2 separate regions of the Homo sapiens genome follow, and region 2 is linked to region 1. Evidence: promoter capture Hi-C in human tissues and cell types (Jung and others, 2019). All regions are on one chromosome and are shown on one strand. The core of a region is centred on a gene start or on the middle of the fragment in contact, and the rest is flanking DNA. Distances in the headings are between cores, read along the strand shown. Region 1 holds the start of GLRB (glycine receptor beta). Region 2 has its middle 97 kb from the start of LINC02272.

Evidence for each region. The method cuts DNA at HindIII sites, captures the fragments that hold promoters and counts their contacts. A contact is called where the count stands out against the background at its distance.
Region 2: a fragment that was not itself captured here is called in contact with the fragment with the promoter of GLRB in region 1 in 3 of the 25 tissues and cell types used here (IMR-90 fibroblasts, hippocampus and mesenchymal stem cells).

Annotation. Positions count from the first base shown.
Region 1 is chr4:157,074,792-157,077,491 of GRCh38, reverse strand. It overlaps GLRB (glycine receptor beta), which reads right to left and starts at 1,342. Exons shown (of 10, transcript NM_000824.5): 1 at 1,195-1,342. The HindIII fragment of the contact is 3,601 bases long and covers 1-2,234 here.
Region 2 is chr4:156,544,153-156,546,936 of GRCh38, reverse strand. No RefSeq gene overlaps it. Among named protein-coding and RNA genes, the nearest start is that of LINC02272, 97 kb to the left of the region's middle. The HindIII fragment of the contact is 4,245 bases long and covers 1-2,784 here.

The sequences.
Region 1 (2,700 bases), core at 93-2,592:
TATTAAAAAAGACAGATAAAAGAAAAAGTTAATATCAAAGAGTTCCACATTCAAAATTCATTGCTTTTTTTATTTAAACACATTACATTGGCAAGCTACCTTTTTGCCCCAAAAAGGTGCCTCTTAAGTTAGCTTTAAAGCTTTCTTACTTATTTGCTACTAACATTTGTCATCAAAAAGATTACTTCAGAAATTCTACAACAAGAAATAAAACAAGTGTTGTTACATTTTTTTCAAATTATCGTCCTAGCCATATTTTAATAACATTTTCATGCTCAAATCAGAACCATATTCTTGCCAGAGATTCTGATAAATAAAAAATAATTAAGCCTCTACCTACACTAGAGAAGTTCAAACTCTTCTGCAACCTTCATTTCCAAACCATAAATTGTTTCTCTTTCATTGTTTTCCGCAGAGTAAAAGACCTGTCATATTCTTCAACGCTAACTTAATTCCCATCTCACCCTCAGAAATTTGCTTCTCCTTATGTCATGTTTTTCATCTTCCCCCCCCCCCCCCAGGATTCTTCCCCCCATATTTATCTTTTACACACACTCCAGGCAAGCCAGAGGGGCTTCTCCCTGGGTACTTTAAATTGAAGACAACAGAGGGGGCTCATCAGACCAACAGCAACAACACAAGGTTCTCCTCTGGCAACTTCACAACATTGGACGCTCCCTTCCCCCATCCGACAGCGGCACCTGCTTCCAGACACCTTGCCCACAGCAGCAGGTACTTCTCCCACTTTCACATCCTTGCCCCCGCAAAAAGGAGGGCCGAGCCCCCCTAACGCTTCGAAAAACAGAGAAATTCACCACTCTGCTCTGTCCTCACCCCCAATCTTTCAAGGGGGACAGCTGCATTGACTGGAGGATCCTCATAAACAAAACAACGCAAGGAGCCCTCCTGGCCAACCTTGCGTTTCCTAATTACCCCGGCCCTCTGCATCTCTCCACCCGGAGCGTCTCCGCGGGCGCCACCGCAGCGGGGACCCGGCTGCCGCTGCCAGGCGCCCCGCGCCCCTCTCCCGCGCAGGGCAGCGCGCGTCCTCCCGGGCACGCCGCAGTGCTCCTCGCGCTCCGCCGCCCCGGGCTTGACCCGCTGTTTCCGCAAAGGCGTCTATTCCCGTCCTCAGACCACCGTCGCCGCCCCAACCCGCGTCCCCTCCTCCTAAGTGGAGCTCCTGGCACTTACCCGGAGGCGCCCCTGCCCACAATCGCCGGGCGAGATCGTGGAGGCTCCGGGCCCAGGTGGCAGTGGCTGCTAAGGGTGCAGCGGGCGCCGAGCGGGGGCAGCTGCGTCCCAGCCGCCCGCGCCACCGCCGAGCTCGGCTGACGCGCCTGCTCGGGCCGCGGAGCCTGCGCCGTGGCGCGCCGCGGTCGGGGCCGCAGCGGGGACAGCGCGGGCCGCGGGGGAACCTGGCGACCGCGGGCGGGGGAGGGAAGAGGTGTCCCGACAGAGCAACGTCACGGCATCGTCCCCTTCAGGCATTGGAGGGGTTACCGAGCAGAAATGTGTACCCCCCTCACTCCTTAGGGGACTAAAGGAGTTGGGGACGAAGGGCGGGAATGATAGTGTCGGTACAAAAAGAAAAAACCTTTCAAGGAGCTGGGATTGCTTGGGGTCAGCTTTTGACCACTAGCAACAAACAACAGAGCAACAAATGACCTTCTTGGGTCAAAGCGAACAAAACACATTTTCTGTCATTTCACCATTTGCCTGGAACCCAGACATCCAGCTTAATCTCCGGGTCTTCCAATTTCTAAAAGCCTGAACTTTCTGAGCAAGCTTAAATTGGTCAAAATTACTGACAATATAGTCATACAGGTAATACTATGTTTAACATCTGTTACATAATTAACATGTGTACAGAACTTGACAGTTGCAAAACACCTTTCACTCGCCTTATCTCATGTGGCCCTCACCACATTCCTGGGCAAGTTTTGTCATCCCCTTCTGTAGATGAAGAATCTGAAACTCAGTTATATTAAGAGATTTACTTAGAGTTACAGATCTTGAAAGAAATTTACCAGAGATTCAAAATTAGTGATTTTTGCATATCTGAACCAGACAGGGTCTCTGCCTTATAAGAGCAAAATACTGTTGTCCTCATCCTTGTGAAGAAGTAGCCCTTACTTGGATATGCAGCCCTTAGATAACAGATAAGGCTATCCTATTACCTCTTGAATGTATGCCTGATTGATTTTTTTTAATTGTTATTTTTTAAGCAACAGGAGCTCACTTTGTTGCCCAGGCTGGAGTGCAGAGGCACAGTCATCGCTCACCGCAGTCTTGAACTTCTGGGCAATCAAGAGATCCTCTTGTCTCGGTCTCCCTAGTAGAGTAGCTGGAACAACAGACAGGCCATTGCGCTCCACTAATTATTATTATTATTTTTTAAGAGACAGCATCTCTGGCTTTGTTGTCCAGGATGGTCTCCAACTCTGGCCTGAAGCCATCCGCCTGCCTTAGCCTCCCAAGCTGGGGGGCTTACAGGCTTGAGCCACCCCACCCCACTGCACCAGGTCCTGATGGATTTTTTTTATTAAAAAAGCATTGTCTCAAGTGAGCATCACTTAGCATTGTATTGTGGACCCACAGATGTATCCACTAATAAATTTTTCCACCCGCAGCATATGGAGGGAAGGAATATTTCCTGCATATAACCGTGTTCCATAAGCTTCATGAGATATTCTGCTG
Region 2 (2,784 bases), core at 229-2,728, 530 kb after region 1:
CAGTGGCCAAATGTTTATTGAGAGCCTGTTAGATATATAGATTAAGTCAGAATGACTGAGATCTCTTTCTCACAACAGTAACAGTCTTCTGAAAGACACTGACAACTAAGTTAGAGATGGAGCAGGATGAGTGTACAAAGGAGATATTCATGGAACTCTTGATAGGCATTTGCACGTAAAGAAGAGTGCCTTGTCCTAGCTATCTCAAGCAACTGCCACTTACTGTCAATCACATCTCCTGGAATTGGAATTGGACTTGGCTGCCCCATCTATCTCCATCTCTCCACAGTGAGCTCTGTTTAGTTTTTTTTATTATTATTATTTTTGAGACAGAGTCTCACTTTGTCACCCAGGCTGGAGTGCAGTGACAAAATCATGGTTCACTGCAGCCTTCACCTCCCCAGGCTCAGGTGATCCTCCCACCTCAGCCTCCTGAGTAGCTAAAACTACAGGCACACGACACCACAGCGAGCTAATTTTTGCAGTTTTCATAGAGATGGGGTTTTGCCATGTTGGCCCATCTGGTCTTGAAGTCCTAGACTCAAGTGATCCTCTAGCCTCGGCCTCCCAAATTACTGGGAGTACAGGCATAAGCCACTGCACCTGGACTGTTTTTGGTTCTTTCTGTACATCAAGTCCACTCTCTTCTCTATCTGCAAATAAGCTTCTTCTCTTATTTCTGCTTTTTCAAAACTTTGTCTTATCATGGTCCATCAAGGCCCTTCTGGGTCTTTTTTTATAACATAAAGTACTTCTTGAGTGAGCTTTGTCAATCACCTCACCTCTCTGTATTTCTTTTATTAAAAATTGTAGAGAAGAGTCTGATAGTCCCATTTAACATTTCACATTCATTGGAACATCAAGGATCCTTGTAAAACTGATGTTTTGGCTGCCTTTGAGCCTTGTGCATACCCCTGGTCTAATTGTATGGCTGGGTTGAAAAAATAAAAGCATATTATAGCCACATGGTCCAGAATTTGACCATGACTGACAAGAATCTGTGCACAGGAAGTGTAGATGAAGGCATATGTGTAGCAGACTTTCTCAGGGTCAGGTTATTCAATACACAGCATGTCAGATTGAAGCAGAGCAGTAAGACAAATGTCCCAGAGTAGATGAGAATTCAGCTGATGCTTGATCAAAAAGAAGGAAGTAGAGAGGTGAAAGGGAAGGATGAACCATTAGGGATAACTTCAACTGCAAAAGCATTAAGGATTGAGAAGCAAGGAACCTTCAGGAAACAGCAAAGTTGGAATGGCTGATTGTTCTTCATTTCAGTCAGCTAAGGACATTTAAACCATTGATTATCACAGTGTTTCTCCAACAGGAGTCTGTGTCTCCCCAGAGAGTGATTCAGTTGTTACAACAGAGCCACAGAGATTAGCAAGTTATAACCTCCTTTTCTATTTCCAAGTGAAGAGAAAATAGTAGAGAAAATATTTTGCTTTCCTATTGTATGTTTGTTGATTTCCTCTGGCCGACAGACATGTTTTCATTTTGATGGCTGCAATGGGAATTAAAGTAGCAAGCCAGTCTGACGTTGGGTGTCTCATGTAGACTACTCTATTTTATTGAAAGCAGCTATGCCAACCAGGTCATTCATATAAGAAACATGAACAAAACCATGAGAAACACATAACTGCACTGTGTCAAGTGGAAGGAGAAGATTTGTAAACAAGAAAGTGGGAGAATGTTTCAGCAGCATATTGCCTTGGGACCACTAGTTCTGACATCTTGGCTGACAGCAAGCCTACAAATGTAAGACAAACCACAGCAGCAAGTAGCTCTAAGAGAAGTTGCTCAAGCCCTAAAATGGTCTCCAATTAAAACAAAGGCACTCCAAGAAACATAAGTTTGAGAAACACAGGCACAGAAGTTACAGACCTTATAAACAGTTTCTGGAAAATACTCTCTTAGCCTAGCATAAGGGGATTAGGAAGGAAACACAGGGCCCAGACCTATGTGAATTTTCAGGAAGTGTATAACACCAGAGCAGTAGGTCTGTGACATTAAGAGTTTTCCCTGTGAGAACTGCTCACAGAGCAAGTCTCAGAATAAATACCGAATTAAATGACAATAATCATTGTTGACAGGGAAAGTGTGCCAGCCTTACATCTGGCATTCAGTAACACAACGTAAATTCTCTATCTGTGAAGAGGATTAATATGAAGATCCAGTTCATAGAGATGGTTTTAGATGATATTTTGGCTTTCAGAAAAGAGTTTGCCTCAAAAGCTTACGCAACCAACTTCTGTTAGAAAACCCTTTCCTAAAATGGAAAACTGAAGACATTTCAATTATAAACACAGTTTAACATATAATATTCTAATAACAGCTATTGAAATATGGGCTTTCATTGAACAAAGCTTAGTCTCATCAGTCACATATTATAATTTTGCATTAAGATACATGAGCTTAATTTTGGAAAGAAAAGAGGAGTTTAGTGAAGAAGCTTCTTGAATCCAACTCCCTCTTTGACATTCTCATTTGAATGCTTAATAGCCTTCACAAACTTAATATTTCTGAAGTTTAAAATTTCCTACAATTCGATTTCATCCATAATATTGCAAATTCATTTTTCCATTTTCTCAAGCCATAAACTTTTGGAGTCATCCTTGACTCCTCTCTTTCTGTCACAACTCATATATAATTCATCCACTCTTCTCAGCTCTCCATGATTTGCTTGTTTGGTTTTGGAAGTGTACACAAAAGCTAGCATAAACAACCCCATTCTAGGCCACCGTTATCTGTACCTAAACTGAAATCTTTTAACCTGTTTTTCTG